2 separate regions of the Homo sapiens genome follow, and region 1 is linked to region 2. The links are contacts of gene promoters, found by promoter capture Hi-C in human tissues and cell types (Jung and others, 2019). All regions are on one chromosome and are shown on one strand. Each heading gives the region's core, a stretch centred on a gene start or on the middle of the fragment in contact. The rest is flanking DNA. Distances are from core to core; before and after follow the strand shown. Region 1 overlaps LOC105379314 (a long non-coding RNA gene). Region 2 holds the start of LZTS1 (leucine zipper tumor suppressor 1).

Region 1 (5,451 bases), core at 162-2,661, 51 kb after region 2:
TCAGATGCCAAATATTTGGGAGCAGTGCTTTTCATTGTGTGCCTGATCCTGGAGCCTGAATCTCCACCTTGTTCCCTGATAGTGGGCAAAGGGATGCTTTTTTCCTGATGCAAGATGCAGTATTAGAGCCCTGCCAAAATCATGGGCTCAATTTCCCCCCTCCCACTCCCCTTCTGTACTCCTTTTGAACCAGATCGAGTTCAATTAAAAGAAAAAAGAAGCATGTTAACCCAATTCACATCCCTCACATTAAGGTGCTAATAACTTGGAGTTAAACCTCCTGGGGAACATTTGCATTTTAATAGAGTGTGCTTAGGACCATTCATGCTCTGGTGGGGGGACGTGTTTTGAACTGGGAGCCTGGAGATTTGGATTTAGTCCCCAAGCTACAATTAGCCCTTTGCCCTTGGGTAAGTGATCTCTCTCTCTCTTTGTCTGCTTAGACTCTCCAACTGGTCCCTAAATTTAAAATTTTGGACTAGATAATTTATCCCACATACACTTTATAACAATTTTATGAGACAGGTACTATTCATGGCACCATTTTACAGATGAGAAAACTGACGCCCAGGGAAGTCAATAAGTGTCTTACTGAAGGTCAGTCGCTACTGTGGAGCAGAACCAGGATTCAAACCCAGGCAGTACGATGCAAGCATCTTACCCACCTCACACCGTTCAGCCCCTCCCTGTCACATTTTCCCAAAATAAATAATCCTGTGTCATCATGAGGAAGAGCTTTGGGATGGGGTGGGGTGAGGGCCGAGGGAAAAGTTTGCTGGGGACCCATCACGGGGCATCACCTCCTCCTTTTCCTTTTCCTCTCTCCTGTCCCCACCCACTGGCCACACAAGCTAGAGCTGGGCCATTTGCTAGACAGAGGGGGTGGTGTTTACAGTTTCGTGAAAGGCAATCGCTAACCCTCTTGACCAACCATCACACCCTGTTGAATGTAACAGGTAACATCCTGCACACACATTCAGATCTGAGTACTTGACAGCAACTGTTTTTAATTTGCAGATGATAGTTGGTTTCATGAAAACAAAGATCTTCCTGCAAATCTTGTAGGTTAAAACTAAATAATTAACTGCATGAAAGTGAAGTACTCAAAATACAATTGGACATCAGATATGCTGATGAAAAGAAACTGAGAAGTGCACCCAGCAGAGCCAGCTGCCCTGCCCTCTCCACAGGGGCCTGGGGATGGGAATCCTACCCTCAGTGGGATATGGTGCTGGAGCTGTGGGTTGGAGCGATGTTCATGGGAAGAACATGTTGGCAGGGATAGTGGTAAGGGGAGTGAAGGGAAGAGAGAAATTCAGTTTCCTGGAAGATTTGTGACCAGTTCGTTGAGATGGCATTTCCATGGAATTCAGGAGACTGCATGGAACATAGATTTAAATTCAGAAGCTGGGAGTATATCCTGAGGACAGACACAAAGAAACCCCATGGTCCGAAGACCTACCAGAGAACATGCAGTTCAACAGGAATGAAAAGAAAAACAAATGTAAAAGTCGTCTCCTCTGTATAGATCTCTTAAGATGGAAGTGCCAGCAGCTACAGATCCTTCCAAGGTGCCAGGCAGTGCTCTAAGTGGATGTCACTGAAGTCCTGTAGCCAGGAGCTATTCGTATTACTGTCCCTACTTTGCGGAGGACTCACAGCACGCATGTTAAGACACTTTCTTTTGGTCATAGCTGGAGCCCATATTTGAAGCGGATGAGCTGGTTTAGGGGCCGTACTCAGCTGGTTGAGTGTCATAGAGGAAAGGACAGTGGGTACCAGAGGGATTTTCCTCAGTCCAGACACCTGAGTCCAGTCCCTGGGGACTTCAGGCTGGGTTATTTTGTCCTTAGTCTAATCTTGGAGGAGCAGGCACCCCTGCGGATGGGGCAGGGAGGAACATGGGTCACAGGTGCTCTGTGTGTAGACTTCATCTACTCTGCCTGCTTGCTGCCCCTCCTCAGGCACCTGGGCCTCCTGGGTGTCAGGAACCTCTCAGTGATCTCCTGGCAAATTGTTTCTTATCTGTCTGGCATTCCTCTCAGCAGGCCTTGAGTTGTAAGACTTGTCACCTGATAAATTAATTGCCCTTCCTCCAGACGTTCTTTTGTGTGTGTGTGTGTGTGTGTGTGTGTGTGTGTGTGTGTGTGATGATTTTCATTTCTTTTTTTTTTTAATTATACTTGAATTCTGGGATACATGTGCAGAACATGCAGGTTTGTTAAATAGGTATACGTGTGCCATGGTGGTTTGCTGCACCCATCAACCTGTCATCTACATTTGGTATTTCTCCTAATGCTATCCCACCCCTTGCCACCCATTGCCTGACAGGCCGCAGTGTATGATGTTCCCCTCCCTGCGCTCATATGTTCTCATTGTACAACTCCCACTTATGAGTGAGAACATGCGGTGTTTGGTTTTCTGTTCCTGTGTTAGTTTGCTGAGAATGATGGTTTCCAGCTTCGTCCATGTCCCTGCAAAGGACATGAACTCATTCTTGTCCCTGCAAAGGACATGAACTCATTCTTTACGGCTGCATAGTATTCCATGGTGTATATGTGCCACATTTTCTTTATCCAGTCTGTTATTGATGGGCATTTGGGTTGGTTCTAAGTCTTTGCTATTGTGAATACTGCTGCAATAAACATACGTGTGCATGTGTCTTTATAGTAGAATGATTTATAATTCTTTGGGTATATACCCAGTAATGGGATTGTGAGATCAGATGGTATTTCTGGTTCTAGATCCTTGAGGAATCACCACACTGTCTTCCACAATGGTTGAATTAATTTACATTCCCACCAACAGTGTGAAAACGTTCCTATTTCTCCCCATTCTCTCCGGCATCTGTTGTTTCCTGACTTTTTAATGATCACCATTCTAACTGGCGTGATGGTATCTCATTGTGGTTTTGATTTGCATTTCTCTGAAAACCAGTGATGATGATGAGCTTTTTTTCCCATATGTTTGTTGGCTGCATAAATGTCTTCTTTTGAAAAGTGTCAGGTGTAATTAACATATTTAGGTGTAATTAACATGTTTAAAGTGTGTTCCTCCATATGTTTTGACACATGCATACACCTGTGAAACCATCACCACAATCACAACTGTGACCATGTCCATCACCGCCAAAGCTTCGTCATTCAGTTTGGTGACCCTCTGCCCATCCCTCCTACATCCTCCTCCCCAGGTGACCACCCACCTGCTTTCTGTCTCTCTAGATTGGTTGGCAGTTTCTAGGATGTACATATAGGAAATCATACATGCCTGGCATGGTGATTCATGCCTGTAATCCCAGCACTTTGGGAGGCCAAGGTGGAAGGATTCCTTGAGGCTAGGAATTCAAGACCAGCTTGGGCAACATAGAGAGACCTGATCTCTACAAAAATAAATAAAACATTAACTGGGCATGGTGGTGCACACCTATAGTCCTAGCTACTTGGGAGGCTGAGGCAGGAGGATTGCTGGAGCCTAGGAATTTAAGGCTGCAGTGAGCTATGATTGTGCCATTGCAGTCCAGCCTGGATGACAGAGTAAGACCCTATCTCTAAAAACAAACAAAGAAACAAACAAAAACAAAGCAAAACAAAAAAAGAAATAGAATTATAGGGTATGTAGGTTTTTTTTGGTCAGCTTCCCTCACTCAGTATATTACTTTGATAGTTCAAATATTTTAGTTTTAGAAAACAATTTTCTATTTATAATAAAAAGTGAAAGTAAACAATGTATCCATTTAATTGGTAAAAAATTTCATGTCCGTTAAATTTGTGTCTGTATCATCCTTACTGTGATTGCTACTGGCAAAGAACAGCACATCCCTTTGAGATCCATCCAAATTGTGGTGTGCATGCGTAGTTCATTCCTTGTGATTGCTGAGTGTATTAGTCTATTCTTGCATTGGTATAAAGAACTACCTGGGACTGGGTAATTTATAAAGAAAAGAGGTTTAATTGACTCACAGATCCACATGGCTGGGAAGGCCTCAGGAAACTTACAATCGTGGTGGAAGGTGAAGGTGAAGCAGGCACCTTTTACATGGCCAGAGAAGGAGGAAGAGAGAGAGAAGGGGGAGGTGCTACTCACTTTTAAACAACCAGATCTCATGAGAACTCACTATAATGAGAACAGCAAGGGAGAAATCCACCCCCATGACCTAGTCACCTCCTATCAGGCCCCTCCTCCAACATTGGGGATTGCAATTTAACATGAGATTTGGGTGGGGACACAAAACCAAAGCTATCACTGAGGATTGTTCCACTGCATGGATGCTCTACCCAGTCACACCATCCAGGCCCAATCCAGCCATGTCTGGAGACTGACACCAATCTGTATCTGCAGTGCTCCAGTCGGCTCATTCTCACCAGGAACTGTTCATTGCAGGGAGAAAGGCCTAGCCAAATTTCCTTATTCACCATCAGAGAAATCAAATGTCAGAGCTGGAAAGATCCTTGATACCAGTGGGTCCCTGTTTGGGGTTGAATTGTGTCCCTTTCAAATCTATGTGTTTTAATTCCTAGTACCTCAGAATGTGACTGTATTTGGATACTGGACCTTTAAGTAGGTAATTAAGTTAAAATGTGATCAGCAGGGCAGGCCCTAATTCAAGATGCCTGATGCCCTTCTAAGAAGCGGAGATTAGGGTAAGGATACACACCAGAGGGAAGACTATGGGAAGGCAAAGGGAGAAGACGGCCATCTATAAGCCAAGGAGGGAGAGACCTCAGAAGAAACCAATCCTGCTAACACCTCAATCTTGGACTTCCAGCCTCCAGAATTGTGAGAGCGTCCATTCTGTTGTTGAAGGCACCCAGTCAAATGCTTTTTTATGGCATCCCAAGCAGACTAATGCAGCCCTGTATTACCCATTCAGTCCAACAAGCATTTGCTGAATGCTTTCTACATGACAGGCTGGGTCAGGGATATATTAGGAGGGAAGAGATGAGGTTTCCATCATTTAGAAACCTCTGGCCTCCTTGCATTTTGCATATCAACAAACCAAGGCTCAGATGGCTAAGCTGACTTCTTGAGATCATAATATCCTACTTCTTTATTCCTTTGGTCGTCTTGCCAAAGGGGACACCACAGTGTGACCCAGTGTGTGGGCTTTGAGGAAAGCTTGGTGTAGTGGAAAAGTGCCCTGAAGCAGGGGTCAAAAAAGCTAAGTTCTAGTCCAGACTCCATCCTCATTTGTTGTGTTGCCTCTAGCTTTCATCAGGCCTCTGTGAAATGGGCATGGTGATCCTCCTCCAGCCTTCTCCACGGGTGGCCATAAGAACCAAAGAAGAAAGTGCAGGCGAAGCTCCAAGTGGAAAGCATAATGATTAGGATGGGATGGGCCTTCAGGGAAGCCTGCTGGATGCCATCCAGGACACACTTGCTCCAGGTCTGCACTTGCCCTCAGAGCAGGTGTCTGCCATCTGGCTTCGACAATCTGTGCTGTTCTGTGTGTGC
Region 2 (5,588 bases), core at 2,881-5,380:
GCACAAAGATCTATTCAACAGCAAACTCAAAGAGCTAATATGTAAATCACCTCAAGATTCCCCACGTAGTTGGATACTTCTTTGTTGGCAAAATCCCAGAAACATCTCATCATTGCCCTGGAACCATGTGGCGGCTCAAAGTGCAGGATTTTAAAACCCCAGGTCTAGGTCACACCTAGAATGGTCCCCTTCCATAACTGTGCTTGTGGGTTGATTGACCTGGAGATAGAGTGGGTGGGGGCGAGTGTTCCCTCGGACTCCCGAACTGTTGGTGGGGCCTGAGATGGCCCCATCTAGGGAGAGGCCTTGAAGGAGCTGGCCCAGTAACAGAGGAAGGAAAGTCAGTGGCCACACTAGCAAAGGGCACCCATGCAGAAATCCACTGTTGGGAACAGTGCTCCCTGCCAAAGGTCTCTGAGAGCTCTCATCTTTCCCCTTACCTTATTAAACAAGCATTTACTAAGGGCATACTCATAGTATCTACTGAAAGCCAACACTGTATTTTTTTTTTCTTTTTTGAGACGGAGTCTCTCTCTGTTGCCCAGACTGGAGTGCAGTGATGTGATCTCGGCTCACTGCAAGCTCCCCCTCCCGGGTTCACGCCATTCTCCTGCCTCAGCCTCCCAAGTAGCTGGGACTACAGGTGCCCGCCACGACGCCCGGCTAATTTTTTGTATTTTTAGTAGAGACGGTGTTTCACCGTGTTAGCCAGGATGGTCTCGATCTCCTGACCTCGTGATCCACCTGCCTCAGCCTCCCAAAGTGCTGAGATTACAAGCGTGAGCCACAGCGCCCCGCCGCCAACACTGTATTTTGAGCTGGGAACTCATGATGCAATCTCTGCTTCTAGGAGTTTTGTAGACTCCTCAGGAGCCAGTGAGTAAATGCCATAATATACTGGTATGATGGTAGGGACTCTGAGGAAGGTACCTGACTCAGAATTGAGGAAAAAACAGAGGAAACTTTCTTGGAGGAGTTGATCCCTATGGTTAAAACCCACAGTGGGGCTGGGTGTGGTGGCTCCTGCCTGTAATCCCAACACTTTGGGAGGCTGAGGCCAGCAGATCACTTGAGGTCAGGAGTTCAAGACCAGCCTGACCAGCATGACAAAACCCCATCTCTACTAAAAATATAAAAGATTAGCCAGGCGTGGTGGCAGGCGCCTATAGTCCCAGCTACTTGTGAGGGTGAGGCAGGAGAACTGCTTGAACCCAGGAGGTGGAGGTTGCGGTGAGCCAAGATCGCACCACTGCACTCCAGCCTGGGCGACAGAGCAAGACTCCGTCTCAAAAAAAAAAAAAAAAAAAAAAAAAGTGGGAGCCAGTTAAGTGGAGAAGGTAGAGAGACCAGGCAGGAATATTCCATGCAGAAGAAACAGTGTTTCTATGTTCAAAGGTAGCAGAATAACATGGACAGAGCCAGGGTCCAGAACCTTACTAAGCTGATCTCAAATCCCTGCCCCTCGGTTTTGTAGCCTGGCTAAATTACTTAACTCTCCTCATCTAATAATTATACATACCCCGCAGGGCTGCAGTGAAAATTAAATGAGATAATGAATAAAAAGTTCCAGGCACACAGTGGATTTAGTGGCTGGCATTAAGTGTTACGGTATTATCCATTACACTGGTCTATAAGGTGCTTACCCATAGGTCTGTCATCATTACATTATTCATCTTCCTAGCCTCGCTGCACAGCTCAGAGCCTTGCATTTGGTAGGCGCCCAATGAATATTTATGAAATGAACGTTGAATAAGCGCAAAGGCATATAAATAAGTTTTCAGGATTAGAAAGCCATTTATATACGTCTGGAGCCCATGTATAGCTTTGCTATACACGCTGACCCACGGCTTCTCAAAACTGAAAGGCACATCTTTCCCTCACACACTCCCAAAGCATTGGCTTTCCCCAGGGCACCCCACGCAGCAGCACTCCTTCTATGACAGCACCCCTGCCCCACATCGACCCAGGCACACACAGCTGGGGGCACCTCCTGCAGATACACAAATGCACAAGCTGAACTGCTGAGACAGGTTTACCTCGTGAAGCACACAGCCGCTGCTATAAATGTTAACTAACAACCATCTTCAGCACATCAAATGTCCCGCCCTCCCTTTTGCTTGCATATAGACACCCACAGAGATGCCCGTTCTTTTTCTACTAGTTTTCTTCTCTTCTTAAGCAGAGTGAGCGCCCCACACTCACATCCACCCAGCTGAGACCTCTTACTAGGACTCCCAGTTGCTCCATCCTATTAGCTGTGGGACCTTAGGGAAAGCCTTTCCCTTCTGACGCCTCCGTTTCTTCACTGGCAGGCACAGAGAGCCCACCGCACCAACCTGGTAGTTATGTTGTGAGGATAAAGGAGATAACGTATGAGATAACGTCTATGATGAGCAGAAAGAGCCTCCAAAGAAAAGCGCTGGATAAATACAAGGTGTAACGCCACGCCTGATTAGCCTGCATGCTCTCTGCCCACAGACTTCTACCCACAGACTATGTTCCACTCCACTCTTAAACACAAACACCTTTCCCGTCTGTACATGCTATCTCTAATACCCATATGCGCACACTCTTCGGGCACCTCCATTCTCCCTCTGGATGCCTGCAGAAAATTGTTTTTGAACTTAGAGAAAGCTCAGGTTGCAAACACCCTCTTGCCGGTACCCGCAGACTCTTCTCAGGGTCTTGGTGCAGGAACTGCCAAGCAGATAGCTCATCTCTTTGTGGCTGGGCTCCTGGGCTCCCAGCATTCCTATTAGGCTGCACTTCCAGCAGAGTGTGGGATCCTTATTAGGAGCAGCGCCTGCCCGGCATGGTCCAGAACTCAGTGCCTCCTCAGTACTTTCCCAGCGCCCGGGACCAGAGAGTAGAGGGGCTGATGGCAGCGGGACGGTGTGGAGGGAATAAGTGAGACAGGAAACACTTTAGGAGGCCAGATCCCTAAGCACTTCTTATTCCTGGGAAATTGAAGACTGCGAAGCTAACAAGTCTGGAGCACTTTCCCAGGCCTGACATACTCGTGGGCGAGCACAAGGCTCATTTGCTCCACAGTTCAAACCTTTCCACTTGGAGCACGAAAAAGAGACATCACCTGGCCCTTGGTGTCTCGGGGATGCCTGTTGCTGCCAAGCTGCGACCTCTGAAGCCCCTCCAGCCAGAGCAAAGCCTGTGGCAGGGTGGAGGGGTGAGGTCTGGCTGCCTAGGGTGGCGGTGGAAGAAGTGAAGGTAGTGTGGGGCTGTCTGTGTGTGCATGGTGCTTTGACTAAATTCCTGAATTGCACATCCAGGACCGACCCCAGGAAGCTGCAGCCCCAGGGAGCCACTTAGACACTTCGATTTACCACCTTCCTCTCTAACCACCTCCGCCCGTGTGACTTATTCCTTGAGGGAAACCTTTCAAATCTCTGGCTGCAACGCACCGGTGTCCTCCCCACCGGTGTGGACACAGCTCATCTGCAAAGTTCCAGGCGGCGAAGTTCAGCGGCCCGGACCGACCGCCGGACCCTCTTCCTGCGGCCCCTGCTCCTGCGGCCTCGCGTCCCCACCTCCCACTTCTTCACCTCCGACACCAGTGTCACCTAACACTGACGTCCCCGCCAGGATCAGCATCGGTGCTGGGAATAGACGAACCCCGTCTGCAGGAGACACGAAGACAAAGACAGGAGGACAGACGCACAGTCACCTCCTCTGGGCCGGGCCGGAGAAGCGGCGCCCACCCTGCAGAGGGGAGACCCTGACAGCTCCACGCGGAGACAAAGACACCTCGACAGCCACGGACACAGACAGACAAAGACCGACGGACGCGCGGACGCACGGACGGTCCGGCCCGGCGAGGGGAAAGCGGTTTCCCGCAGCCAGGGCAGCAGACCCTCCAGGGGCGAGGAGATCCCCGGCCACCGCACCTTACCTGCCCCCTGCGCCTCGGGCGCACTTGAGACTTTTTTTTTTTCCCAGTGTTTCCCGGTGTGTTCCCGTCTCTCTTTTTCCAGAGCTGCTGAGCGGGCCGGGCCGGTCCCACTGCGCGGGATGCAGCTCCCGGCTCCCACTCACTGGCCGAGGCGGGCAGAGAAACTTTCGGCCTCCCCGCCCGGCCGCTGCCAACCCGCCAGCTCCAGGCGCGCCGGCCTCTGCGCGGGTCCCGGAGCCGGGGCGGGGCGGGGCGGGGCGGGGCGGGGCGGGGCCGGCCCGGGGCGGGGCCAGAGCCGGCGCCGCTGATTGGCAGCGAGCTGCCGGCAGCCTGGTCTGTGCCGCTCGGCGGCCTTTGTTCCGGGCTGACAGCTGGGGCTGCTCGCGACCTCGCGGCTCCTTCGCGCCCGCGGCCTGCGCGGGGTCCCGGGTCCCGTCTCTCTGCTCTCACTTCCATCAGCCCCATTGGGCGACCCTGCCCCCTCAGTCTTCCTTTCTTGCCTGGCCCCCTTTCTCCGATTGTTCCTGTCTTGCTCTTGTCGCATCCTTTTTTCCCTTTCATTACCTGAAATTCTTACTCCAGTTTTGTTTAAAATCCATTCCTTCTCCCGTTCTGTGTATGTTCCCCTTTCTTCATTACCCCTTCCTCTTAATCGCCAGTTTATTTTTCTTAATACCGTCTCTCCCGCTCCCGACTCGCACTAAAGGGCGTGTGTTTTGTTCAAGGACTGGACTAGCACCCAAGTGAGGGGCATTGCGAACCACACCAGGATTACAGGCTAGAGTCCAGAGCACCGGGACTCCCACTCCCAAAACATGTCAAAAGCAAACTTTTCCAGCTCTGAGGGAGCTGAGTTTCAGGTGACAGCAGAGGCCTGTTTCAAGTTTATAGCTATTAGTCTCACCCAGTCCCCTTATAATACTATCATTTTCTCAACCACCCTCACTTTTAACTTCTAGCAACTGAGCCAGGAGAGGATTCAAGCTTACAAGGTTTTGTAGGACAAAGGGTCAGTTAACCGGAGTGCTAGGTGCAGCATGAGGCTTGGGGGCTTGAGGGTGCACTGAGGCTAATCCTCTAAAACCAGGCTTGGCGGGAAGATGGCAGCTCTGCCCAAGGAGTGTTAGCCTCATCTTGAAAGAAGCCTGTGTGTGTGTGTGTGTGTGTGTGTGTGTGTGTGTGTGTGTGTTGGGGGGTGGGGGATAGATGTAATGGATTAGGATTGACATAGCCGATCTGATTATAAATAGCATGGGGGCCGGACGCGGTGGCTCATGCCTGTAATCTCAGCACTTTGGGAGGCCGAGGTTGGTGGATCACTTGAGGTCAGGAGTTGAAGACCAGCCTGGCCAACATGGTGAAACCCCGTCTCTACTAAAAAAAAAAAAAAAAAAAAATACAAAAATTAGCTGGGTGTGGTGGCAGGAGCCTGTAATCCCAGCTACTTGGGAGGCTGAGGCTTGGGAATTGCTTGAGCCTGGAAGGCAGAGGTTGCAGTGAGCCAAGATAGTGCCACTGCACTCCAGCCTGGGTGACAGAGTGACACCGTGTCTCAAAATAAATAAATAAATAAATAAATACAAAAAAATTAAATAGAATTGTGGTGGCAGGGGGGACAGCTCAAAGGAAAACAAGCCATATGGTTTCTGCCACACCCCTGCTCAAAACCCTGTAGGGGAAT

What was found. The method cuts DNA at HindIII sites, captures the fragments that hold promoters and counts their contacts. A contact is called where the count stands out against the background at its distance.
Region 1: a fragment that was not itself captured here is called in contact with the fragment with the promoter of LZTS1 in region 2 in 1 of the 25 tissues and cell types used here (stomach).

The regions. Positions count from the first base shown.
Region 1 is chr8:20,353,053-20,358,503 of GRCh38, forward strand. The region is part of intron 1 of LOC105379314 (a long non-coding RNA gene); the gene reads left to right. Among named protein-coding and RNA genes, the nearest start is that of LZTS1, 52 kb to the left of the region's middle. RefSeq lists enhancers at 4-626, 1,777-2,300. The HindIII fragment of the contact is 5,426 bases long and covers 1-4,124 here.
Region 2 is chr8:20,299,833-20,305,420 of GRCh38, forward strand. It overlaps LZTS1 (leucine zipper tumor suppressor 1), which reads right to left and starts at 4,131. Exons shown (of 4, transcript NM_021020.5): 1 at 3,908-4,131. RefSeq lists a silencer at 4,121-4,190. The HindIII fragment of the contact is 20,395 bases long and covers 1-5,505 here.